Linked DNA regions of Homo sapiens: all the other regions are linked to region 2. Evidence: promoter capture Hi-C in 16 types of primary human blood cells and fetal thymus (Javierre and others, 2016). All regions are on one chromosome and are shown on one strand. The core of a region is centred on a gene start or on the middle of the fragment in contact, and the rest is flanking DNA. Distances in the headings are between cores, read along the strand shown.

Region 1 (6,658 bases), core at 3,735-6,234, 1.5 Mb before region 2:
AGAAAGGGCCCATGGTGATATCTGTTCACTATCTTCCTTTGCTTTTTTGGCATTTAATATTTTGGTATGTTTATTTGGCATATGTACAATACAGGGGTGTGCTGATAACTTTTACAGCCAGCTCCCTAGGAAAAAAGTCCTAATTTGTAGTGTTTGCCAATATCTATGGTGTAAACACTCCCACCATAGTTGATTTTAGGCTACCAACATGATGTCAACCAGTATGCAAAGTTTCTGAAAATTTAACAATAGGCTCTTTCAAGCTATGAGCCAACTGTGCCACACCATTGATATATGGCTAAAACAAACAAAACAAAATAGAACAAGTGTATCAAAAGGTCAAGCAATATAGGAGAATTTCAAATGACATATGTAGTGGTCTCCCACTCCATTAAGAGTTGGAGTTTAATTCCCCCACTTCTTGTCATTGAGAGTGGACTACATTTAATGACTCCTTCCAAAGAATAACACAGGGACAGGGAAAAACAGTACCTTTGCAGTGGAGAAACCTGGAAAACACTGTCTTAGTCAGGTAATAAAAGTTAAGGTAGTATAGTGGTATCATGCAAATATCATGTATCACCTAATCTGATGTGATGTAATTCACATCAGTAAGGTTTTTGTAAAAAGCCAATAACCCCAGGATAATTGCAAGAAAAACATCAGACAAACTCAAATTACAGGACATTCTACAGGACATCTGGCCAGTATGCCTCAAGACTCCCAAGGTCATGACCATCAAGGATAGACTGAGAAGTAAATTCATTTTTTGAAGTACATTCTTTAAATCAAAGGAACGCTTGTCTGCTTTTGCATATTATATGGCTTTGTTTTGGGTATTTTTAGAAAGTGTTCATTTTCTATCCATTTAGAAATGTAGACATTAGGATCAAATTTTATATTTGTAAATCTCATTTTACCACCAGATTTATAAAATTACTTCAGAATTACTGCAGATAGGTTATATCATCCGTCTGTGAGATAAATCGATACAAAAGAAAATATGTACAAAATTTCTTGGAGGTTTAGCCCCTTCAAGTTCTCAAACTAACAAAAGTACAATGCACAGTGATCTTCACTCTGTGACAAGCAAATGCTATTTGATGGAATGTTAAATGTGGTGAGAACGTGGACAGAATGTGGGCTCTAGCCCCTGATTTGACAGAGGAAAATGGAAGCTCAGTGGACCTGCTCAGTGTCAAGTCAAGCCCCCAGGCATTTCGACTCTCACCCCATGATTTCTTCCATCACCTTCAGCTGGTAAAAGTGCATTAGAGCATGAGAAATGTGAACTAAAAGAAAATCCGAACTCCCCCAACTGACTGAATACACCACCTCCCCTTGGCCAAGGGTACCCCAGAGAAACTAAAAACTGAGTTCCTGGCCATGATGGGACAGTAGATCAGATACCCCTCATTATAACCTCTTCCTTTTGGGTTTAGACACGACTGATCAGCATTGATGTTAAAATAGAGATCATAAGACTGACAGAATGGACTCTGTGGCAATATGATCCCAACCTGTAAACCTAAGACCATGCCAGGCAAGACCTATGCCCCTACACTTAAAAGACTAAAATATGTTCTTTTTTTAAAAAACTGCTTAACATTTTTTGTTTCTTGTTTTTATCTATTTACTTATTTTTATTTTTAGTAGAGATGGGGTTTTGCCATGTTGTCCAGGCTTATCTTGAGCTCCTGGGCTCAAGCAATCCCCCTGCCTCGGCCTCCAAAAGTGCTGGGATTATAGGCATGAGCCATCACAGCTGGCAACAAATAAACTATGTTCTAACTGCCACAGGTTTTTATTTTTCTCTAGCAGTGAAACAAGCACTGGCTTCAAGATAAGCAATATTAAAATAATTTGCTGCTCATCTACCACAAGATACTGACTGGTTCTCCTGTTCCAAAAGCCACAGGTATAGCTTTCACTGGACAAGAGACTGATTTCAATCACTTTCTCCTGATAAGAGGCCACTGATCATGAACTGGTTTTGGTCAGTTTACAGAGACTGCACACTGGAATGCTTTTGTGTCCTGTAAAGACCTATATAATACACTTAAAGGTTAAGTCTCTATCCCATAGTGAACATAGGTTGTATGTTTATTCAGTACACTTGAGTTAGGACCACCTTCATGAATATTCATAGCTCCTCCTGTAATCTGTTGAATAAGTATACTTGGACAACCTGTTCAGCTTAAATTCCTGTCTCACGCTTCCCTCTCTCCAAGTGCCTGATTCTAGGCTTGGACTGGAGGCTACACTCTGAGCCTGTCAGAATGGTCACTTTACAAGCTGTAATCCTCTATAAGAAATAAAGTGTCCTTTCCAAACTTATAGATCTCATTAGTCTTAAGTTGACAGGAAGAACCATAACAAAGTATTAAGCAAACAATGCTGAAAAGAAAAATTAATATATCTACAGCACTTTAACAAGCATCCTCTTGTTTTCAACAATAATCCATGTCTGGAAAACAATCATTTATCAATGTACTAACTTTTCTACAGCTGCTTACTCTTTCTTGAGCAAAAATCTTTAACTTTAAAATATATTTTAAAACTTTGCTTTTAGCTTTAATTGCCTATCCATTTGCCTCCATTGTAGGAATTATAAAAACACTCATTTTTTTCTTCCCTAAATGAGAAATACCTGATAAACTAAGGGTTTTCCTGTGTACTGGTGTGCTATAAAACAACTTCAGGCAAAGGATGATTCCAACTAGATATCAAATTCACATGGACTAAGTCTCCTGCCTGTGAAAGAATTTTTTGAAATGCCACAGAAGCAAGAGAGAAGGTGGTGGATCTGAGACTGTGAATAAAAACTGTAAAAAACTCCCAGAGACAAAACAACGGTTGGGTCACAATATAGAGGAAAAATGGCAGCTTAGAATAGAAGAAGGCAGGAACTGCAGACGGTGGAAGCTCTGTCGTTGTGTTTGTTTCTCTCTCTAATGTTTTCTGCCAATATAAATCAGAAAAACAGTATCATAAGCTTAGCCCTCGCTATAGACCACAGAGAAATGATACATGCAACTGGGGTGGGAAGAAAATAAAAGCTGAGGACAAACCTCTCCATTCCTCTCTACAGAGCAAGGATTAGTTATTTAGATTATAAAATTGCAGCACCCAGGGCAGAGGTCCAGGGAGGTACTTTGAAGGCTGTTATGGATTGAATTGTGTCTTTCAAACTATATATTTTTTATAAAGGCATCAAAATTTATATGTTGAAGTCTTAAGCCCCAGTACCTGAGAATGTGACCTTATTTGGAAATAGGGTCGTCATAGATATAATTAGTTAAGATGAAATTATACTGGAATAGGGTGGGCCTTTAATCCAATATGCTGTTGTCTTTATAAAAAGGAGAAATTTGGACACAGACATACACACAGGGAGAATGCCATGTAAATATGAAGGCAGAGACTAGGGCGATATGGCTAGAAGTCTAGAAATGTCAAAGATTGCCAGGTGATATGGTTTGGCTGTGTCCCCACCCAAATCTCATCTTAAATTCCCATGTGTTATTGGAGGGAACTTGTGGGAGGTAATTGAATCATGGGGGCAGGTCCCTCCTGTGCTGTTCTCATGATAGTGAATAACTCTCAAGAGACCTGATGATTTTTGAAAAGGGGAGTTTCCCTACACAAGCTCTCTTCTCTTTTCTGCCAACATGTGAGACATGCCTTTCACCTTCCACCATGATTGTGAGGCCTCCACAGCCACTTGGAACTGTAAGTCCAATAAACCTCTTTCTTTTGTAAATTGCCCAGTCTTGGGTGTGTCTTTATCCACAGTGTGAAAACGGACTAATACGCTAAAATGGTATGAGTAGAGTGGGGTGCTGCTGAAAAGATTCCCAAAAATGTGGAAGCGACTTTGGAACTGCATAACAGGCAGAAGTTGGAACAGTTTGGAGGGCTCAGAAGAAGACAGGAAAATGTGGGAAAGTTTGGAACTTCCTAGAGATGTGTTGAATGGCTTTGATCAAAATGCTGATAGTGATATGAACTATAAGGATCAAGCTGAGGTGATCTCAGATGGAGATGATTGATATGAACTATAAGGTCCAAGCTGAGGTGATCTCAGATGGAGATATTGTTGGAAACTGGAGCAAACAACTTTGTTACAAAGAGCAAAACTCTTGTTATCTTTTAGCAAAGAAACTATTGGCATTTTGCCCCTGCCCTAGAGATTTGTGGTACTTTAAACTTGAGAGAGATGATTTAGGGTATCTTGCAGAAGAAATTTCTAAGCAGCAAAGCATTCAAAAGGAGTCTTGGGTGCTGTTAAAGGTATTCAGTATTATAAGGGAAGCAGAGCATAAAAGTTTGGAAAATTTGCAGCCTGACAACGTGATAGAGAAGAAAATCCCATTTCAAGAGAAATTCAAGCCTGCTACAAAATTTTGCATAAGTAACAAGAAGCCAAATGTTAATCCCAAAGACATTAGGGAAAATGTCTCCAGGACATGTCAGAGGTCTTCATGGCAGCCCCTCCCATCACAGGCCCGGAGGCCTAGGAGGAAAAAATGGTTTCGTGGGCTAGGCCCAGGGTCTTCGTGCTGTTTGCAGCCTAAGAACTTAGTGTCTTGCATCCCACCCACTCTAGCCATGACTAAAAGGGGGCAAGGTACAGCTCAGGCCATGGCTTCAGAGGGTGCAAGTCCCAAGATTTGTCAGATTCCATGTGGTGTGGGTACACAGAAGTGGAGAATTGAGGTTTGGGAACCTCTGCCTAGATTTCAGAGGATGTATGAAAACACCTGGATACACCAACAGCTTGCACTGTGCACCTGGAAAAGCCACAGACACTCAATGCCAGCCCGTGAAAGCAGTGAAGAGGGAGGCTGTACCCTGCAAAGCCACAGGGGTGGAACTGCCTGAGACCATGGGAACCCATCTTTTACATCAGCATGACCTGGATATCAGACATGGAGTCAAAGGAGACCATGTGGAGCTTTAAGATTTGACTGCTCTGCTGAATTTCTGACTTGCATGGGGTCTGTATCCCCTTTGTTTTGGCCAATTTCTCCCGTTTGGAACAGCTGTATTTACCCAATGCCTGTACCCCCATTGTATCTAGGAAGTAACTAACTTGATTTTGGTTTTACAGGCTCATAGGAGGAAGGGACTTGCCTTGTCTTGGATGAGATTTTGGACTACGGACTTTTGAGTTAATGCTGAAATGAGTTAAGACTTTGGAGGACTGTTGGGGAGGCATGATTGGTTTTGAAATGTGAGGACATGAAAAGGCCAGGGGAAGAATGATATGGTTTGGCTCTGTGTCCCCACACAAATCTCATCTTAAATTCCCATGTCTTATGGGAGGGACCCTGTGGGACGTAATTTAATCATGGGAGCAGGTCTTTCCTATGCTGTCTTGTGGTAGTGAATATGTCTTTTGGTAGTGAATAAGTCTCATGAGATTTGATGGTTTATAAAATAGGAGTTTTCCTGCACAAGCTCTTCTTCTCTTATCTGCTGCCATGTGAGACATGCTTTTCACCTTCTGCCATGATTGTGAGGCCTCCCCAGTCACTGTAAGTTCTTTCTTTTGTAAATTGCCTAGTCGTGGGTATGTCTTTATCAGCAGTGTGAAAATGAACTAATACACCAGCAAACCACCAGAAGCTAGGGGAGAACTGGAACCAGTTCTTCCTCACATCCCTCAGAATGAAACAAGTCTTCTGACACCTTGATCTCGGACTTCTTGCCTCCAGAACTATGGGACAATATACTGTTTAAACCATTCTGTTGGTGGTACCTTGTTAAAGCAGTGCTAGCAAAGGTCAATGTTGCTGGTAGAAGTGGCAAGTGGACAATACCAAGATAAATAAGTAATCCTAGAGGCCCAATGTCCTGAGGCAGGATCCATTCTCCTCAGACTTACAGGAGGGAAACCAGGAGCTGAACTTTTGCCTCTCCTGGTAGAGATGATATGGTGAAGCCATTCATATTTACTAGATGCAGTAGAATGAATGGAGCATATTAAAAATATCTAAATAGATATAGTAAATATCTCAAAGGAGTAGTCAAGGGAATTTGTAATAAAGGCCAGAACAAGCACTTGCAAAGAATAACCAACTTGAAAATTAGGATGTGAGAAGTCTATAATGGAAACAGTGGACTCTTATCAAACCAAAAAAAAAAAAAAAAAGGAGAAGGAATGAAGATAATTAGGGTCTTTGTACTGTTTGGAGAAACGTAGAGTTAATGCTAAGTTTTAGAGACCCATATAGAAAAATAAACACAAGTATAGGTCTTAATAGTTAAGGGTAAACACTTTGAAAGTAGAATGAATGACTTTCATGCAGAAGACAACTTGATAACAGATATATAAGCAAAAAAATCCTAACTGATGACATTTTCTTTTAGCACATGAGAAATATTAATGAAAATTAACTAGGTATCCAAATAAATGGTCTAAATAAGAATAATTGTATGATTAGTAGATTAAAATATCTGATAAAATTCAAAATATATTTATGTTAAAACCTCTTAGCAAATTCAGACTAGCAGGGAATTTCTTAAACTTGATAAAATATCCATACCTAAACCTTACTGTAGGATGATCTTTAATGGTAAAATCTTTGATCATTCTCATTAGATCAGGAAAATAGAATGCAACCTTTTATTACTGCTACTGTGAATGTGGTTT
Region 2 (7,322 bases), core at 2,176-4,675:
TGGACAAAGATATCCAAATTATAGAAGAGAAAATCCCAAGGCATGAACAATATGATCACATTATGCTATCAGTTTGGTAGAATAAGAAAGCTGGATAACACCAAGTGTCAGTGAGTTCTTTTTTGGAACTGGCACTGCTGGTGGGATTGCAGAGTGGAGTAACTGTTCGGAAGAACAGTCCGGCAGCACTACTTAGGCAAACTATTTGCACATCTCATGATCTAGCAATCCTACTTTTGGGCATAGATAGCAAAGAAATTCCCGTATGAACAACATGTATGAAGATATACCCTGAAGCTACATCTGTGATGACAGGAATTAGAAGCATTCTAGGTTCCTATCGCTGGAGAAGCGGACTGGTAAAATGTGGAAACACATTCCAAGTATATACAGCAACATGGGTGGCCTTTAAAGGCATAGCTTTAAATGAGAAAAGAGACAATATCAATGTCTCGTTTATGCTACTCTGTAGGGGGGATTTCCAAAATCAAAGTCAGTGAACATTTTCATTATCGAATACACTGAGTTGTGCTAATAAGGTCATATGGTATGGCTTCAGGTCAGCAATTTTCCTCTAATGAGTATTTCTCTGGCTTTCACACACTCCTAGCACAGTGTCTGGCATATATGAGTGGCTCAGTAAATAAAAGAGTCAGAGAATGGCAAAGGCCTGCAGTAAGTAACTACCACAAGCATGTTCTATTTTACTCCAGGGAGAGAACAGTTCCAAGTTATATCTTGGTGATTTGGTAATGTTAGACAAAGACAAATGAGATAATTTTTTTAAGGCAGGATCAACATATATGATGCTACTACAGCAATATAAAGGAAACTGCTTATAACTTTAAGAAGAAACAATGTAATACTTCTAAGTTTAGATTATAGTACTATTACCTTGTTCAATCTGAAAAAGAGTATTCATTCTTTGTCGTGGACCGTAAGTCTTTATTAACTGAGACAGGAGAAGCTGTTGGCTTTTAATTGTGCTGTCCTCTAATATTTTTACTATTTTCACTTCAACCAGATTGCACCTGTGAGATTACTAATTGGCTATACTTCAGTTATTATGTTACTCAGAAAATTTTTAAAAAGGCTCTTACTTTCCCATAATTGTTTTTGTTCTGTTTCACAGTACAAAAGTCAGGAAAAATGTAAGCTTTAAGGCAGTATACTATGTTGTTTAAATTTAATCTAGCACCTTTGAAAAAATATTTTCAGATTATAATATCAAAAAATACTGAACCAATACCCCCATGGCTTTAACCATTAAAACAAAACAAAACAAAAAAAAAAACTAACCGAAATATAGTTAGGCTGACCTCTGGCGGCCAGATGTCTCATTCTTCTGTAACTGACAAAATGGTGTGATGTCTCTGTTGGTGAGACAGCCAAATAGAATATAGTAAAGAAATACTAGCCGGGCGCGGTGGCTCACGCCTGTAATCCCAACAGTTTGGGAGGCAAAGGCGGGTGGATCACCTGAGGTCAGGAGTTCGAGACCAGCCTGGCCAACATGGCGAAACCCCGTCTCTATTAAGAATACAAAAGATTAGCCAGGTGTGGTGGTGCATGCCTGTAACCCAGCTACTTGGGAGACTGAGGCGGGAGAATCGCTTCAACCCGGGAGGCAGAGGTTGCAGTGAGCCGAGATCGCGCCATTGCACTCCAGCCTGGGCGACAGAGCAAGACTCTGTCTCAAAATAAAAATAAAAAAATATATATTAGAAACGTCACAAAGCAAAATTATGGGCAACACAAATGTTACCACATTCTTAACTAGCAGCTGAATATCTACAAAGTTTGAGGAATTAAGCAGGAGAATGGATAAGGTATGGCATATTAATACAATGGAGTACTATAGCAACCTGTCTGTGCCGTAGTTTCCTCATCTTAAAAGAAGATCAAAGTTATCCTACAGGGTTTGTGAGCAGTAAACGAAGTAAAGTGCTTAGCATGGTGTCTGGCACATAATAAAGGTTAATTAAGTGCAAGTTACTATTATGAACATATCAATATGAACCACAGCAATATTGATTGAAAAAAGCCAGATGCACATATAATTATTCATTTAACGGTTAAAACATGCAAAATAGTACAATATCCTCATTCAGGGATTTATTCATGTCATTAATATATTAAAATATGTCATTAAGATATAGAAAGCTGCATGGTAAAAGTTAACAGTAAATTCAGAAAATCCATTACTTCTTCGGAGGGCAGGTAATTCAAAAGGAGAAAGATGTACAGGTGGCTTTAGTAATGTTCTATTTCTTCAGCTGGCAGTAGGTTACTGAGGTGTAGGAGAGGGAAAAACGGCTTCCCTCCATCCTCCTAGGTTCTTTGGCTGGGTTACAAATTAACCTGACATAGACATTAACAAGAAAAAAAACCCGTACTTAATTACATACGCAGAGGAGTCCCACCATGGTCAGATGATTGAATATTATACAGCATCCTACGCTACTCAAGAAATGGGGGCTTGCGGCTTTCTGGGGGATGGTGGCCACAAAGTTGTGGAAAGGTGAGGGGAGGAAATATACGGTGAATAAAAGTTGTCTTGGTATGCAGATAAGATCTCCCAGGTAACAAAAATTATCGCAGAGCTGCCCTCTTTCTGATACAGATCCTTTACTGATGTATATTTCCTCTGTAGATGTCAATTTCTTTTACAACAGGACAGATTTTCAGAGCGACTCCTGTGTCTGCATTTTATCAGAATACCAGCTCAAAATATACTCTAGAAGTATATTGTAGGGTGGCATATTTTGGTCTCCTACAGTCCTATTTTTGGATGGTGCATCCTGAGATCCAACAGAAGTTCTGTCTGATATAATTTCATTTAAAATTTAAAAACCTAGTTCCTACTCTTCTTTATTTTAACCACTACCCGAAAGACCTTTCCATTCTCTTGAGTTCTCCCTTAATACACTGTCCTTATGCACACTTGTAAACAGGGCCTACACAGCTGCACATCTAGAAACGGCAGCAGCTAAGTTAGCCCGCACCCCCCTTCGCAACGATCCCCGGACTGCCTGCACGCCCTGTGGAACCTCGCAGTCGGCTTCACCAGGGCAGGGACTAAGGCCTTCAAAAGACAGCATCCGTCTCCACTAACCTCGGGTCGCCCCGCTCAGCGGACCCAGCAGCGTCGTCTCCCTTCTCAGAGGTGGCCGGGCCTCCGGAACGCGCTACGAACTTTCCTTTGTCGCCGTCTCTCGAAGCGGAGCCCTCGTGTGGGGATCCCCCGCCCTTCGGCCACAAGGGAGGTTGTTATCCTCGGCAGATCTCCCGTTCTCACTCTTGGAGGATCGCTTTTTCTTTCTAGCCTCACGCTCAGCCGCACGACCCAGCCAGGCCTAACGCCAGCAGCCCTTCCCCTCCGGTGGCAAGGCCACTCCGCTCAGCTCCCGCGCCGACGCTACTTCCGGCCGAGTCAAGGCCCCTCCCCCTTAGAAACGCCACTTCCCTCCGTGAAAACGGCTGGACAAGGTTGAACCTAGACGCATGCGCCCAAAGCGCGGGGTGCGAGGTGGGTGGACCCATCGCTTCCCGCTCTCTTCTCCCAAAGCGCTTACGGCAGTCTCGCGGGATTTCCCCCTCTCGCGGGAATTATTTGAACGTTCGAGCGGTAAATACTCCCTGGGGCTGTCATAGAAGACTACTCGGAGAGCGCTGCCTCTGGGTTGGCGGGCTGGCAGGCTGTAGCCGAGCGCGGGCAGGACTCGTCCCGGCAGGGTTCCAGAGCCATGGGAGCGGAAAGGAGGCTGCTGTCGATTAAGGAGGCCTTTCGGCTGGCGCAGCAGCCGCACCAGAACCAGGCGAAGCTGGTGGTGGCGCTGAGCCGCACCTACCGCACGGTAAGCGCTCCCGGCCCCGGCCGCCGCCTCTCGCCCGCCCCGGCCCACCCTCCCTCAGGGGCCCTCCGTGGCCCTCGGGCTCGGCGCACCGTGACTCCAGCCTTGTTCACCTTCGCGACTCACTTCATAGGGATCTGAGGTTCGGAGAAGTCAGGGACTTACCCGAGGTCGCCTGGGCCCAGGCCAGAAAGCCTCCGAAGCCTGGGCGTCGTTCACACGGGCCCCGCCTTGGCTTTTCTGAGCCGACACCCCCAGCTTCTGGGCGGCGTGGACCGTTATTCCTTAGTCCGATCGTGAACGTGGAGAGAAACATTTACGACCACCGAGGCGATCAGACATCAAATATTGAACCGCAGAGTGGATCCTGAATGCGGGGGTTCAGTGGTCGTTGCCCCTGGGGTCATCGCTCCCCGCCGAACATCAAATGATTCTACCCTTGTCCTACGGTTACGTTGAATCCAATCACCAAATACCAAATTATTTTTAGGGCCTGGCCATTCTTATTTATGTACATACTATTTGTTTGTTTTGAGTGGAACCTTGAGAAGAATAGAACAATTAATTTGGGGAAGATGAATTATCTTGAGGTCCAAGAAAAATTGTGAGTAAACATCACAGGGCTTTGAGGATATGAGATAGGATGTGCAAGTTATCTCATAAAGAAACTGCTGGTGATAGGAAGGCCTGAATATGAGAAATATAAAAGCCAGTATTGATTTTGGGTTGTTGAAGAAGCGTATTTGTAACGTACTGGTACTAAAGGCTTATTGAGAATCAAAGATATTGAAAAAAATATATCAAAGGAATCTTTTCACTGTCAAAAGTCAAGCTTGTGTACTCCCATTATAGCCTGGAGAGAAATTCATGCAAATTGATTGCCCTTTGGCTGGTTTGGATAATTAAGAGTTTACTAAATAAATATTTTAATTTGTCTGCATTATTATGGCTAGTGCTTTCATCAGTCTTAGGGTGATGTTGGGAATAAAGGATTTTTATCGGTGCAGTTTATGAAGGGTTTCTTTTGTCTTTCAGATGGATGATAAGACAGTTTTTCATGAGGAGTTCATTCATTACCTTAAATATGTTATGGTGGTCTATAAACGTGAACCAGCTGTGGAGAGGGTAATAGAATTTGCAGCAAAGTTTGTTACCTCATTTCACCAATCAGATATGGAAGATGATGAGGAAGAGGAAGATGGTGGCCTTTTAAATTATTTGTTTACTTTTCTCTTAAAGGTACTATGAAAATGATAGCTTTGGGGAGGGATTTTAGAAAATTTTGCCACTTTAAAAGAGTCGTGGGAGTTTGTATGTTTTTGACAATGAAATATCTAGTGATTGAAAAAACCTGAATGAGTCTACCTTTCATAGGAAATATTAGAATTATCATTATGATTAAAAAGTGGACTTTAACTCCAGCATTAAATTTTTAATGACCTCTTTAAACCAGTTCTCCTTTGTTTATTTTAAATGAGTTCTGTATTTTAGAAGCCTCTACAAAGAGGACTATGTAACTTAGCAAAGACTTCTTTCAGACTGTTCATTTTGAGACTGTATAAAATATATATATTTGCTATACATATGGACCAAGGTAGCATTATAGGTTCTCTTCAGGAAATGAATTGTTGTTGTAACTTCTTGCATTCCGAATGTATAGAGTTCAGATAATATTGATTATTTGGGAGTGGTATGTGACTATGAATAAATTTTGATTTGTTTCTGTTTTAGTCTCATGAAGCAAACAGCAATGCAGTGAGATTTAGAGTGTGCCTGCTCATAAACAAGCTTTTGGGAAGTATGCCAGAAAATGCTCAGATTGATGATGATGTGTTTGATAAAATTAATAAAGCCATGCTTATTAGATTGAAAGATAAGATTCCAAATGTGAGAATACAGGCAGTTCTGGCGCTTTCACGACTTCAGGATCCCAAGGATGATGAATGCCCAGTGGTTAATGGTGTGTGTAGTTTCCTAAATCTTTTTTCAGATTTGTTGATTTTGTTAAATTCTCAGTATTTGAAATTTTTTATTATGGTCTATACATTTGAAGAGTATAGGTAATTAATATATGATTCCGATTAAACAAAAAAAACCTAAGTAGCAACCACCCAGCTTAAAAAAAAAAGTCAGTACTTGCATCCTATCCCAGTTGCATCCCTGTCCCTCAGAAGTAACTATTAAATCCTCAGTTTGGGGTTAATTAGTCTCTTGCTTAAATTAAAAAAAATTTTTTTGCATAAATCACATATGTCTATCTTAATGTTTTCCTGTCATTTTGTGTAAATCATGCTGTATGTATATATTTAGCAGCCAATTATATTTCTATATAATACCTGTTACTGTGTTTTGCCCATTTTTTCATTGGGTTTTTAATTTAAAATACTATTTTAAAAAATTCATTTGCATTCTTTATATATTTTGAAAAGAAATCCTTGGGTTATATGAATTGTAGATCTCTTCCTGTTTTAGGTGGCTCATTGGGGTATCATTGTTTCACTCCCTTTGGGGTATCTTTTTTTTGAACAGAAATTCTTATGTCAAAAATATAAATCTCTGCCATTATGATTCGTATTTTTTAATCTCTTTTTTAAGGAACTTTTTCTTACCTATGGGGTCATAAAGGTAGTTGTATTTCATTTTTCCATATATGCCTAGGTATGTTTTAGGCACTCTTCTGTCCTTTTTGTCCCTATTACCAGTTTTATAATCACTGGTATATTTATCACTATAGTAGTTGGTATTTTTTTTGGTGTTAAAAGATACCCATAATAATATTGTGTAAAACATAGGTATTTGATAGTCAACCTGTACTTAATAATTGAGGTAGGAAAGATGTGAGAAGTACAGATAAATATATTTAAATATAAGAAATGGGTTTGTTTCAATGAATAAAACCAAAAAATATTTCCTTTTAGGTCTCATTAAAAACCAAAATAATGGGCCCTTATAAAGCCATATCAGTTTAAAATAAACTGTCTGCTATAGTAAGCTTTCTCTTAAATATTGAGGAGTAGCACAGACATAATCTTAATGATGAATTTTCTGTGACTTTTAGGGCTATTTGTTTTCACTTTTGGCCTAAGAGCCAGTCCGTTGACTAATTCCCCCTTGTGTCTTTAGAAGGGAAGTTGGTGGCCTGCGCAGCAGTGACTCAGGCCTGTAATCTCAGCACTTTGGCTCCAACCTGGGCAACATAGTGAGACCTTGTCTCCAAAAAAAAGAAAAAGAAGGAAGTTGGTGGGAAAAAAACTTCAACTAAAATATGTGAGACTAAAAAAATGACATTACTTTCTATTACAGATGGGTTCTCACTCGGGCTGGATTGCAGAGGTGTGGCCTCAAACTCCTGGGCTTAAGTGATCCTTCCACCTCAGCCTCCTAAGTAACTGGAAGCGCCACTACCATGCCTAGCTAATTTTTTATTTTAAAATTATTTTGTAGAGACAGGGGTCTTTCTATATTGCT
Region 3 (7,060 bases), core at 1,766-4,265, 1.6 Mb before region 2:
TTGCAACAATCATGAGAGTTAAACAGAGCAATTAATGGTGTCCATATTTTGTCCATTTTCATATTATGAAAAAACTGAGGTTCACAGAAGTTGAGAGACTTGTCCAAAGTCATTGAAAAGCTAAGTGACAAATTGGGAATAGTACCTAGTCCAGCGTGCTCTCTCCCCTACATCAAAATGATCAACCATCTCTCTGACAATTATAATTTGGCTGTGATTCATGGTGAAGGAGGTAGGAGGGTACAGTGCCTCACTGCCAGAGCCATCGAGTTAGCCTCGCTGCTTCTGCTCTGCCAGGACCATTCCCACCTTTTCCTGGAGAAGGCTGCATTTCCCAGAGCGCCACTCAATCTCCAGTGCCGAGGTATACCTGCGTTTCAGTGTTTCGCTTGTTTTTATTTTGTTAAACATTGCTCTCTAGAATTCTATAGACCTATCTGAACTTATCTGTCCTATAATTTTGGCTACAGTTGACTGGTTAATTATTTAGCAAAGCCACTGTTCTTTACCTATGGGTATCACCAAGAACTCTGACAGCTAAGTACATCTTAACTTCTGTCAGACTTTTGCAGTATTTCATTCCTTCTAAGCAAAACAGTCACTCTCATTTGTTATGCCAAACATCTACCTCTACGTTTTAAAAATAAGTATTTTTCCAATAATCCAAATATTTACTTTCTGAACACTGATTTCAGTTTTTAAGATGTCAATTAATCTTAGTTCATTTATCCCAATCTTACCAGGAAGAAATATCATTCAGTAAAAGTTTTTTAAAAATAGACACTTTGGGAGGCCAAGGCGGGTGGATCCCAATGTCAAGAGATGGAGACCATCCTGGCCAACATGGTGAAACCCCGTCTCTACTAAAAATACCAAAATTTGCTGGGCATGGTGGTGCACGCCTGCAGTCCCAGCTACTTGGGAGGCTGAAGTAGGAGAATTGCTTGAACCCAGGAGGCGGAGGTTGCAGTGAGCCAAGATCGCACCACTGTACTCCAGCCTGGTGACAGAGCGAGACTCTATCTCAAAAAAAAAAAAAAAGAAACATTTTACTATTATAGCATAAACAAGTGCTTAACATTAGAAGAACTATGTTTTGACAACTGTGAATTTTCTTTTTTTTTTGAGACAGGGTCTCACTCTGTTGCCCAGGCTGCAGCCCAGTGGCACAATCTTGGCTCACTGTATTTTTTATAGAGACAGGGTTTCACTATGTTGCCTAGGCTGGTCTTGAACTCCTAGGCTCAAGCAATCCACCCGCCTTGGCCTCTCCAAGTGCTACGATTATAGGTGTGAGCTACCGTGCCCAGCCGTCAACTGTGAATATGTAATATGAGGAAAATAATACCAATCATAAATCCAAATCAATTCCTCCAGCACATACGTACATATATATATACTTTTTTTTTGGAGACACAGTCTTGCTCTGTCACCTGTTGCCCAGGCGTGAGTGCAGTGGCACGATCTCGTCTCACTGCAACCTCCACCTCCACCTCCTGGGTTCCAGCAATTCCCCTGGCTCAGCCTCCAAGTAGCTGGGATTACAGGCGCACACCTCCACGCCCAGCTAATTTTTTGTATTTTAGTAGAGACAGGGTTTCACCGTGTTGCCCATACTGGTCTCGAACTACTGAGCTCAGGCAATCCACCCGCCTCAGCCTCCCAAAGTGCTGGGATTACAGGAGTGAGCCACCGCGCCCAGCCCCTCCAGCATATTTTTACATGATATCATCTCCTACCACAGAATTGCTCTGTGATCCAGAACTTAAATTCAGAAAAAGCATAGTATAAATTGCTTTTTCTTCACCCCTAAAAGAAAAAACACAATGTTTAATTATCTTCTAAGAAAGCTTATTTTAGAAATAAGAACCAAAGATTAAAAAGTATTAATTAAAAGTAATGAGTAATCATAAATATATTTATATGTTCAGTAATATGTCTAAATATATCTTTCTTAAAATAGCATTGAGCATTTAAAAATTTGGAAAGTAATACTGGTTAACTGTTAGGAAAATATGAAACATGCATATCTCCATAGTCTTAAATAACATAAAACTTTAGTAAACTTTATTAAGGTTACACTAAAATATTAAATAAGCTTATTGAACAGAGACACACTCTTGTACCAGGCCAATTAGTAATCAGCTTTTCTGGGACTCAATCATACAACAGCAATTCTGCCTTCCTAAGTCAAACATTAAGTAAAGAACCATTTCACACAGTATATTCAAGTTTTTAAGATGTTTGAAAAAATGTTTATAGTCTCATTTAGAGGAGTAAAGAGTAGAATATTTACACATGTATAGATGGAAAACAGGTATAAACAAAGGAGTGACTTTTTCCAAGGTCATAAGGTTATAAAGCAAAGGATTACAAATGAGAATAGAATATCATTAATTTGACAGTCAATGCTATATAGGCTTTCCAGAGACTTCTTTTATGCAAGTAGTCCCCAAATTGGAGCACAAATGAGCTGCTAGGATTGAATTTCAGAGCGTAAACTAAGTTAAAGTTAAAAACTGTCAAAAGCCAAGACACTGAACTGATCAAAAACCAAAATAAGTAACTTTTCATTGTTCGTTTGGTCTATATATACTAATTAAGTAAAGCAAGTGAGAATTTTAAAAGCAAAGCAATAGTTTGTCAGAAGTAGCTAATTTTACTTTGTATCTGGTTTGTGGTTACTCCAAGTAATTTCCCGGTTTTATTATTTTTATTTTTCTTTGTGAACAAATTAATTGGCTCTAGATCATAATTTTAGAATCAGTCACCCTTTAATCATCCATTTGGTTAAGTTTGGGGCCACTGGGATAACTATGTGATATAGGTGAAGACTGGTTAAATGAAAACATATTTTAATAAAAATGTATTTGTAAGAAGAAACTGACAAATTTTCAGTTACACAAAGAATAAGACATAGGTAATATGAATAGTTAAAACCTTCGTCCCACTCGAAATCTTTTAAGGGTATTGCTAAAAATTCAGTTGACTTTTCTGGGTTTCATTCTTCCTGCCTCTGCTCAATCTCTAACAGAGGTGAAGCAAGAAGAGGTCTAACCATGGTTAAAGGGAGAGGAGAGAGGCAAAAGAGATGGATAATAAGTTGAAGTTTTAGAAGTCCAGAGTCACTGTTAAAGAAGAAAGAAATGGGTCCATGGCACTGTTACCAGTAGAAACAATATGTTCACCTATACCCGACTTCAGGCTTTCTTGTTTTACAAGCAATACCTATCCCCATGCATCTCCAACACCTGCATTACACAGGTACTGTTTCACCTGTGCTACCCTCACAGGTGCTACCCTTATTTACACCAAGCCTTCTGTTAAGTCTCCATGGTGACTAGAAGCAACCTAGATGCTTCAGATACTGAACTATCTAGTAGTGGCATTATGAAACAGAACCAAACTGATTAGGCAAGCAGTCTAAGCAAGCACAGAGTTTACAAAGCAATTCAACAACCCAACCAAGCCAAAAACACAGATTTCCTAATGCTTAGTCCAAAGTTGATTTGCTGTACTTAGATTCCTAAATAAAAATATGGCTATACAGAAACTCTCCTACCTAGGACTTCTGCAGATGAATCAAGTGGGGAACAAGCACAAAAACATAACATTGATTATTTGGTTTTATGTCAAAAGGAACAACAGAAGTTGGTAGTATTTTCAAGGACAGGAAGAAAATACAGAAGAGATCAATCTGCAGTTCTTGATAACCACTACATCCAGAGTTCAAGGCCAGTAACCACATATGCAACAAGGAAATACACAATGACCATTCTGAGAGAGCAAATAAAAACAGGAATGATGAGTGGGATTCCCAATTCTAACTATGTTAAAAGGTGTAAGTACTCGCATCTGAGACATGCGTCAGCCTATTGCCAGGCTAAATATAAGTCAGAACGGGAGTTCTGAGAACGAAGTGATGAGGAAAAGAAAGCTTAGACTTAATGGAGACACATGTTTAGTATAATACAATATAGAGCATATACAGCTATTCATACAGACAAATATACATATCTAGTTTCTAAACATATAAATCAACAAGGAGAGATATAAAACAAAAAATGAACCTCAGACACCACGTTTTATTTTATTCAGATGGAAAGAGTTTGGATAAGTACCTAATATGTACATTCATTTAGGGAATTCTAGGCTGTTGGGACTGATCAACAAATGTCTTACCTGTAGGAGCCCTAAATTCCTTGTGAGAAATGATAAAGGGAACTTTGGAACTGACTGATGGTTCAGCCACCAAGACACTAAGATTATGACTTTCAAAAAGAAAAGCCAAAGGTTGCCTTAACTTGCAGGGGGATCTAGATCTCAAGGGCAGTGGTGCTAGACTCTCAGAGGCACACAAGAATATAAAAAAATCAACAAGTAATACCTTAAGTCCGAGCATCTAGCCGTGGAGGACTAGTTTGATTCAGGGAGAAATGCTATCCAAATGACTCCAGGTGCTGCCACTCAAAGGCCCTCTGACCCAGGCCAGCTCCTAGGGAATCGTTTTTAAAAATTCTTAAAAGGAGGGGAAGGAAGGATTACAGAGCAGGGGAAGAGGGCAGCGCTAGACTTAGCAGCCTGGGCATTGAAGAAGGACTAAAATAATTGTTTCTAGTGGGGAAACCTCTAACAAATATGGTTATCGGAGCTACAGACTGGGTGCTAGCAGTGGCAGGAGCTATGTGACTAGCAGAGCAGGGACACCAGGGGAAAAGAAGGAGGGGCTTATGTGGAGGCTCAGAGAGAACACTGGCCAGTGGCTCCAGCTGAAATACTCCTGGAATTTGGAATTCTCACCTAAATCCTGATCGCCAAGGCTAGTGTGACTTGGTAAAGCAGGAGTGGCCACTGACATCTCCTCACACAAAATCAATGGAACTGGGGAAAGAACAAGGACTACCCCAACAGCTAAACCTGGAGGCATCTCCCTGATAATGACTTCCTGCAACTATGGGTTAAAAAAAATCCAGCCTTAAACATGGTGAACCATGTTGGTGAAGAATGGATACGTGGTATAATGAAGTCCATGGAAGTCCAGGTATCCAGTCCCAGAAAAAGCCAGGGAAGAAGTGTTAAGTGATACTGCAAGCTCAAGATCTGTGCTCATCAATAGGCTTCAAACAACTTCATTTCCTCTCCACGCAAACAACAAAAAAAGGCTTTTAAAATGGTGGCTTTCCTGCAACTGAGAAATGTTTTAAAGAAAGTATAGTGAAGCCTGGCTACATCTATCTCTATTTACAACAGAGTGCTTTTAATATTCAAGTCTAAGTAAGTAAACAGACAGTTGAGAGATTTGCTATTTTGTCTTACTGAGATCCTGCCAATGAAGAAAGTAAATACTCTTGAAAGCAAATGTTTAACTGAGAACTAAACCAAATAAAGTATGGTTGAGAATTTTTAAGTGGTTAATTGAAAAAGACCAAACAAGACCGTCTGTAATTTTCCAAAAATATAGACTGCTTCAAATAGAACCTACGTCCAGTTCTGGGAATCAGCAAATCAATTAGAATCGCATCTGATCAACTTTATGCCCCTTAAGTAGTTTTAAAATTTCAGTACTCAAGTACAATCAATGATGTAATCAGCCTCACAACTTAGTTATTTGCATGAACTTCAGGAAATAACGGCTAACACAGCCCCTTTTGGACAACAGAAGTAATTTTTTAGTTGGAAGAAATTTAATGGAGTTATGGTTCAGTTGCTGTTTACAGCTTGAGAATTAAAACGTTGGGTTCACTCTATATTCAAGAAGACATCCATCTCAAAACCTTTTTTCATTTAAAACTAATCTGTAACTGCAATATGAATACAAATGCAAGTTTTAAAAATTCTTTTAAAATGAGAATAAAAACCTACAGCTTATAGAAACTGTAACATTGTAACAATACGTTTAAAACTGGTCATTGAATGTAGGATTCATAAGTACACATTTTCTCATCTAGTAATTTTTTTGGCATAAGTTTCAGTTCAGGAAAAGTTCAGATGCAACATTTTATGGAGTGTTAAATATTTCTGTACTGGGCAAAACTACTGAACTTCATGGTCACTACCACACCGTCAGCTGTCTGTGAAAAATCTACTTGCAGGGCAAGTTAACAGGTTTCTATGGCTCAAGTTTGCTTAAAATACAGAACAAAAAAAGTCACCTTGGCATGAATATAATTAAGAAATCAGCCGTGTGCTTCTCACGTTTGGGCTCCGAGACGTGGGAGATGCCCGCTAACCTAAGACCTTCCGAGGGCGATGCAAGGACCCGGACAGAACTTTCCCGGCCGCAGACCCCTTCTAGGGCACACCTGGCCTGGCGCGGCCGCGGGGGCCTCGGGGCTGCGCGCGCAACCCGCCCGAGGAACTGTCAACGGCCGCGGAGCCTCGGCAGCCTCGGCGGCTCCGCGCGCCCACAGCCTGGGGAGCCCCGGGAGGCAACGGCAGCCGCGCGGCTCGGGGGCCGGGGTTCCAAGGCGCCCCCGCCGCCCTCGGTCCCCAGTCCGCCCCTCGGAGCCCGCCACGGCCTAGCGCCGCCCGCCTCACCTGTGCGGCCCCGGCGCCTCTCCCGCCGCCGGTCGCTCTCGTAGAAGCCCAGCGTCTCTGTGAGCTGAGGCGCCGGCGGGGGCCCCTGTCCGCCGCTGCCGCCCGGCTGCTCCGCCTCGCCGCGGCCGTCCCGCTGCGGGCCGTCCACGCCGCCACCGCCGCCTTCTCCCGGAGCGGCCGCGTCGCCGACGCCCGCCATGTTCCGAGCACAACAAACTGTCCCCGCCGCCTCCCTCCAGCCTCTGCCTCCGGCCGGCCCCCTCCCCGCCTCGCCCCGCCCCTCGCCGGAGCCCGAGCCGCCGCCGCCGCCGCCGCCATCCGCGGCCCGCCGACCGGCGCGAGCCATTGGCGTCAGCGACGCGTGTGAGGCCGCTGCCGCCGCCGCCGCCGCCACGGTAGCCGCCATCTTCTTCCTGCCCTCGCCGTGGCGGGCGACGGTTTCTCGCGCCGTGGCTGGCTCGGCCGGCCGGGGCACCGCGCCGGGCTCCATGCAGCCGGGCTGCGCGGTCCCGCAGAGCGGGCG
Region 4 (6,416 bases), core at 1,195-3,694, 1.6 Mb before region 2:
AGGCTGAAATTTAGTTCCTTCCTAGGCAGCTTCCAAAGCACTGAAGACAGTTCAGCTCAAACTGACTACAGAAAGCTTTGCAGAAGAGTATACGAGTGGGAACACACTGGGAAGTTCTTTGTGCAAAACTGAATTAAAAGTACTGAGTTACAAACTGCAGACATATAATTTTAAAATATTTTCTAAAATTCATTCTCAGCAGCGATTTATCAAAATGTACATGTTTCAAAATAATCTTTTGCTTAATTAATATCTTCAGGTACTTCTTTAAAATAAAAAGAGTTATAAGTGAAAACAATAAAAGGACAGAAATGTTCACCAGGCTCTCTGTCTCTGAGAGATCTTTTCTGGAAGGACTTCAGAAGCCTTCTACAGGTTCTGGGCAACGCAACCGGGCACTGGCCAGGTGCTGGGCTTGGGCCCTGCCTGTGCATGGCCGCAGTCTAGTACCACCCACACTCTGCAGTGAGACAAGGAGTTGGCCTGGGTTCTTGAGTGGTGGAGGCAGAGCCAGGACTTCACTCAGTCTGCAGAAAACTGAAGCACTATTTCTACTAATGACACTTTCACTCATCCTTCTGGCCTCACTCACCACTGGATTTACCATTATACACATTTTAAAATAAAGTTTAACATAAGTTTTTAACATCTGAACTTTAATGCTAAGGAAATTACAAAATGAAAATTATCCTGTGACATTGTAAGTAAACAAAATATTCACTTGTGAAAATTTCTACAACCTGCTCTTATCATATTTATTTTGAACCTAATAGTACTGCACTTAGCATCTGAAAAATACCTGCCTCAAGAGAAATAAACAAGTAAAAACGCCAGCCTCTTTCTGTGGGGAATGAAGCAGGGTTTCTTCACCTTTTAAAAAATCTACGTGTCCCTTTATGACAAAAATCTCCTGCCCTTCTTTTAGCACCATTTGAAATTTCAAAATAAACAAAATGTTATGGCTAAAATGAAAGAAGCATAATGATTTTGCAATATATCTCCTTGAATTACACTAACCATCTTCTGGAAATTCTGAATACCATCTCCTCCACCACAACCACCAAATACCACCTGCTAGTCGAGGATCGCTGGTCTAGGGTGTTAGAAAGTAGGAGTAAAGAGGCTTAGTCTCACTTTTATAAAGCTTGTGCTAAAGCTCTGGGTCTACTCCTGTAAAAGCAGAGACCATATCTTGCTTAATACTGCACTGGGAGGAAAGACATCCTCTCCAGGGAATTCACAACCCAGTGAGCTTGACACAAACCGCATGCTAAGTGCCAGATGAATGATGTGCTCTGGAAACACAGGTGAAGAGCCTGGGTCTGTAAAGCGTGTGTATTTGGGGGCAGGTGAGAGTGGCATGCACACCACAGGGAAGGAGGTGCAAGAGATAGCAGAGATGTCCCACAGAGGAGAGAAGACAGGCACTAGATTTTGCCAGGCAGTAAAGAGGACCGAATTTCAAACCAAGGAAAGAGCATGCACAGGTACAATGTGAGTAGCCTCCTAGTGGTGAGGTTAGGATATAATCATTATGCAAGAGGCATAAAAATCACGTTCAGTTCATTGCTAAGGAGCTCAAATTTTCATTCTTAGGTTCCAAGGTATCCTTGTCTTTTGACTGTTTTCACTTATAGCTCTTTTATTTTAAAGAGGTACCTGAAGATGATTAGGTTATTTTGAAACATGTACATTTTGATAAATCTCTGCTGAGAATGAAGATGTTCTCAATAAACTCACATATAGGGATCAACAATCAGCAGAATGTTAAGGGGAACAGGATATCAATAAGAAAACTATAAATGACTGACTTTGAAAGCAATTACTGCAGATTCAAGGTCATCCCTACAATAAAATCATTTTAATCATCCGAATTAAAAAATTCATGCCCCAGAAAGTCTATACTCTAGGAGATGGCCAACAAAGGGATTATCATGAGCCAAGTTCTCTTACGATAGGCAAGCTATGTAAGCATATGCAGCCATGGAAAACAAGTCAATTGATTTTAATTTGTAGGACTATGCACATAGAATGATCCTGAGACTTTCTTGCTTCTCTTACTTCCAATCCATGTTGAATACTGTTATATTTTAAGCACGTGACCCACATTAACTTGATCCTCACAACAACCCACCAGGCAGGAACTATTACTTGGTATTTTGCTTGCTACAGACAGGGCTTAGACAGGGCTGTGGTGCTCCTGCTGAGAGGCTGGAATGATGCAGCAAGGCAGGAGTGCCCTCAGGGTCCCAGGGCAAGACTGAGTGTCACCTAAGGAACAGAGGTCTTAGCTGCGGCTCTAGGCTCTGATCCTACACCTTCTATCTAGGATGAGATCGACTTTCTAGGGAGTGGTCAGCACGAAGCACCACAGCAGGCTGCAGTGAGCAGAGAGGACAGTACGGAAGGAGAAGAGCCATCAGTGTGAATGATCACAGCAGCCTGACATAGGACAATGGAAAGACAGAGAAGAGAAATTTAAGACTGTTTCCAAAGCTGAAATGAGAGAAATAAGTGATTGATTCACAAAGATAAACATGGCCCCATGGTGCCAAGTTCAAAAATTATCTTTTAAATACATTAATAAATGTGCTAGAGGCCTAAAGGCTTTGCTGGCTTGTCTTAGAACTATCTGATGAGTCTCATATGCCCAACCTCCCCTGAGAAAATTAAGAATGGTAAGACAGTTGCAGAAAGAACGTGGAAGCTGTGGTCACTACCACCACAAGCAGGGTGTGACAAGCCTCGGAGAGAAGGGGAGAAGCACCAGCCAAGGCTGCTGAGATTCTGAGACATGTGGATCCCTACTGGCTTTCCTGCTTCTCAGCAGCCACACAGCAGGGGCTGGGGGACAAGGAGGGGGAACATCTGCACAAGGGTGTGTCACCAGCAAGAGCTGCATTATGAGAAGAATTTAGAGGGATGATTCTCTGAACATGTTTTTATGAAATCAGAAACTGACTAGGATGCCCAAGAAAACACTGCCATAAATATGGGTCTGAGTAAATACTCTCTATTAGTTTCACAATGAAATCCCAGGACTGTTTTACTGAAATAAAGGGGAAACAATAGTCATTACGTTTTCTTAACATATCCTCACACTGACATAAAACAAAAAGGCTTTATATGACATTTGAAGTCCGTTCGTTTGAAATGAACTTTTGGATTATTTTTTCCTAAATGTTAACCCCACCACGACCTTCAAAAAGGCAAAATTAAGTTACTCCACTAGACATTTAAATCTTTCCATCTACCCTCACCATTCCTCACAGGCAAACTCATTCAATGAATCATGCACTATTAGACCTCTTGAGATGACCTAGGTACAACCTTCTAATCATAGAAGAAAGTAAAACCCAAGAGAGATCTGATGCCTTGATCAGGCCTCAGCTATTACAAACAGACTCAAGAAGCTAAGGTTGTTGATGCTTGATTACAAATAATTCCCCTGTATGACAGTAACCCTTCCCCCTTTCAACAATAATAGTCTATGCCTAGTAATAACAATATATCAATACTTACACCTTCAATCTGACAAATTTAAGGCTTATAAAAATTTGCTACATTGGTAAGAAAACTAAGTCATTCTATTTAAGCAGTTGAATTTAATTTTTAGAAAAATGTATTAAATAGCTATAATGTACAAGGCATGGTAACAATGAAATAATGAATTGCCAAAAAGCACAGAATTACAAGGTAAAGAAAAGTCAACAGAATATTTTCATTTTAGTTTAACCAGATATGCAAGCTTACATGAACATATATAAACACGGAAAAGAATATTGCTAAAAGGCTTCATGATAATCCACAACATACATCTGACATATTTAACCCAAGAAATAAATACCATGAGAGGGGAATAAGTAAATCAAATGAAGATTTTAATTTGTAGAATTAAATTATGTAATTGTAGAATTAAATTAGAATTTTAATTGTAGAATTAAATTATATATTAACTATATTCATGGAAGGATCTTGAGCTCTCCCTGCTTGTCTCATTTCCAGTCCATGTTGAATATGACTATACTAATTTTCCAGAAAGAAAGCTCTGACGGATGGCTAACCCAATAACCATTCTCAGTTCTTTTCTGTTTGTTGGAAAAGCCTAACATTCACTGTCCTAGCCTCCTTTGCAGCTGGGAATGGCTATGTAGCTCAGTTTGGACAATAAGACAGAAGTGGAAGTATTCCAGGCCACGTCTGGGAAATCTTTCAATCTTTATAAAAGGCATAGTCAAAAAAGTGGCAATGCCCACCCCATTTCTTTGTTTATAATGCAGATGTAATGCCGAGGTTGCAGCCGTCATCTTTCTACTAGAAGACAACAAGCAAGAGGACCCAAAGCCAATTTGCCAAGGATGGCAAAATAGAAAGATGAAAAGGACTTGGGTCCGTGACAGCTTCATTAATCTGCTGCAACAACTGAGACCTCTTTTCTTCTAGATTTGTTGAAAAAAATAATTTCCTACTTGTTTAAATGACTGTTAGCCAGCTTTTCCATTCTATACAGCTAAAAGCATTCCTAAGAAATATATATTTAATAGTCTCCTTCCATAGACTCAACTCTAAACTCTCCAGCCTGACCATTCAACATAACTGGATCTAGCCTATCTCTTTTTTTGAGATAGGGTCTCACTCTGTTGCCCAGGCTGGAGTACAGTTGCATGATCTTAGCTCAGAGCAACCTCTGCCTCTGGGGCTCAAGCAATCCTTCTGCCTCAGTCTCTCGAGTAGCTAGGACTACAGGCGTGCACTACCACTCCTGGCTAATTTTTGTATTTTTTGTAGAGACAGCGTTTTGCCACATTGCCTAGGTTGGCCAGTCTATCTTTCTTTCCAGCATGTGTCGGTGGTTTCCTGTTCACACCTAACAATTTTCCACCTCTGGATCTTCCTAGCATAGCCACCCCATCCTACAAAGCATATACGACAAAATCTCTCTCTTTTTCCTTCCTGGATCCTCGTCCCAGGTCTGTTGTCTAGGCACACTTCCCCTTCTCTAAATTCTTCATATTTTATTTGTACTATTTAAAAGCACTTGTCACGTTGTATCCTGTATTATAATAACTTATGGATCTGATATCTCCTAAGCTAGGTGTGAGTCTTATCTCTGTATTTTGCACTGCAAAAGTGCCTTCTTGGAACATAGAAAGTACTCAAAATATAGATGGAGCAAATTAATAATTAAGTGTGTAAGTGATCTTTATCTTTCTAAATTTGAATTTAAACATAACAGGAAATTTTAGAAGATCCTATAATGTGTATTTCTTTACTATTTACTGTAGCTTTAGATTCACAAAGATGACAAAATTAGTCCTTAGACAAGGGACAATTTTGTACCTGATGCATGGTAAACTGTTCCTAGGGGACCTAAATGGAGAGCATATACTACTAGCACATACCTCCACCAAACAATGGTGGAAGGAGAGATCTGTCTGGAAGTCAATGAAGAACTGCCACCGTGGGGTGGACAAAGGAATTGGAGCTTTAATAGTATATATATCTTGTGAGGCTGTTGAATGGATTGAACGCAAACACATGTAAAATGCCTAGGACAGTATCTGACACCTAATCCTTACATAACAAACATTATTTATTATTCACACAGAAATGGATACAAGAGGTGGGATGTAAGTGTCCAAGTCAAGGTGGGGTATGGGACAGTGAGAACTCACTCACCAGGAATTTCCTCTTTAGGAAACTGGTGCTCCCTGCCCTTGATTTCACCAAGCCTCTGGTTAAAGCACCCTGTTTCTGTTATAACTGTAGGCTTCAGGCATGTGCCCATTGAGGCCAGACTCTATAGGGCTTGGCAGAAAATGTCAGGGTGTGTTATCATCTCTCATGGCCATTGGTTATGTTCTTCATGAAAGAGATCAGCTTTACCCCCAGACAGCCTAGGTAAAAGGAAAGAGGAAAGAAGACAGCTTTCCCTAGAGGTTTTTTCTGCCTATGGTCAGCAACCCAAGAGGGCCAAGAGCCAGAAAATCATGCCCCTTGCAGGGTTAGCAAAGTCGAATTTAGTGGCAAGCAAAGCAGGGAGATTAAAAGTATAATGTGAGATAAAACTGGGACACAGGGAAATCCTAAAAACCACACCTCTCCCAATCACCTCCTGCTGTGCACATCCCAAAGATGAAAGCTATCCCTACTGCAAAGAAAAATATTACATCCACCAGAATGTAATCGGGGACAAGCAACCTTTAAATTCCTCTCACTCTAGCAGAGTAGTGCATTCCCCCTGAGTTGCTGATGTGAAGGTTGTGAAAAATTTTACATGCTTACCATATAATTAATATATAGATGAGACAACTTAGGCAGAGAATGATTAAGTGAATTGCTCAAGGACTCACAGCCAATCAACTGTGAAGCCAAGACTCAGAGTTAGACAGTTCGGCTTTAGAGATGATCCCCTT

What was found. Contacts are between HindIII fragments. The CHiCAGO score rates a contact against its expected background, and 5 or more counts as called.
Region 1: a fragment that was not itself captured here is called in contact with the fragment with the promoter of DCAF16 in region 2 in 1 of 17 cell types (M1 macrophages); the score reaches 5.7 in M1 macrophages.
Region 3: a fragment that was not itself captured here is called in contact with the fragment with the promoter of DCAF16 in region 2 in 8 of 17 cell types (non-activated CD4 T cells, fetal thymus, total CD4 T cells and 5 more); the score reaches 11.3 in non-activated CD4 T cells.
Region 4: a fragment that was not itself captured here is called in contact with the fragment with the promoter of DCAF16 in region 2 in 1 of 17 cell types (naive CD8 T cells); the score reaches 6.1 in naive CD8 T cells.

What each region holds. Positions count from the first base shown.
Region 1 is chr4:16,279,696-16,286,353 of GRCh38, forward strand. No RefSeq gene overlaps it. Among named protein-coding and RNA genes, the nearest start is that of TAPT1-AS1, 56 kb to the left of the region's middle. The HindIII fragment of the contact is 3,982 bases long and covers 2,994-6,658 here.
Region 2 is chr4:17,807,332-17,814,653 of GRCh38, forward strand. DCAF16 (DDB1 and CUL4 associated factor 16) reads right to left here and starts at 3,426. Exons shown (of 3, transcript NM_017741.4): 1 at 3,116-3,426. NCAPG (non-SMC condensin I complex subunit G) reads left to right here and starts at 3,648. Exons shown (of 21, transcript NM_022346.5): 1 at 3,648-3,857; 2 at 4,890-5,093; 3 at 5,586-5,814. The coding sequence starts at 3,747. RefSeq lists enhancers at 1,195-1,344, 2,964-3,053, 3,095-3,606, 3,174-3,333, 3,607-4,119. The HindIII fragment of the contact is 3,530 bases long and covers 1,155-4,684 here.
Region 3 is chr4:16,219,722-16,226,781 of GRCh38, forward strand. TAPT1 (transmembrane anterior posterior transformation 1) reads right to left here and starts at 6,750. Exons shown (of 14, transcript NM_153365.3): 1 at 6,538-6,750. The coding sequence starts at 6,736. TAPT1-AS1 (TAPT1 antisense RNA 1) reads left to right here and starts at 6,942. Exons shown (of 3, transcript NR_027697.1): 1 at 6,942-7,060. RefSeq lists silencers at 6,303-6,682, 6,793-6,842, 6,853-6,952, 6,963-7,032. The HindIII fragment of the contact is 1,839 bases long and covers 2,097-3,935 here.
Region 4 is chr4:16,204,261-16,210,676 of GRCh38, forward strand. The region is part of intron 2 of TAPT1 (transmembrane anterior posterior transformation 1); the gene reads right to left. Among named protein-coding and RNA genes, the nearest start is that of TAPT1, 19 kb to the right of the region's middle. RefSeq lists a silencer at 1,546-1,595. The HindIII fragment of the contact is 2,604 bases long and covers 1,143-3,746 here.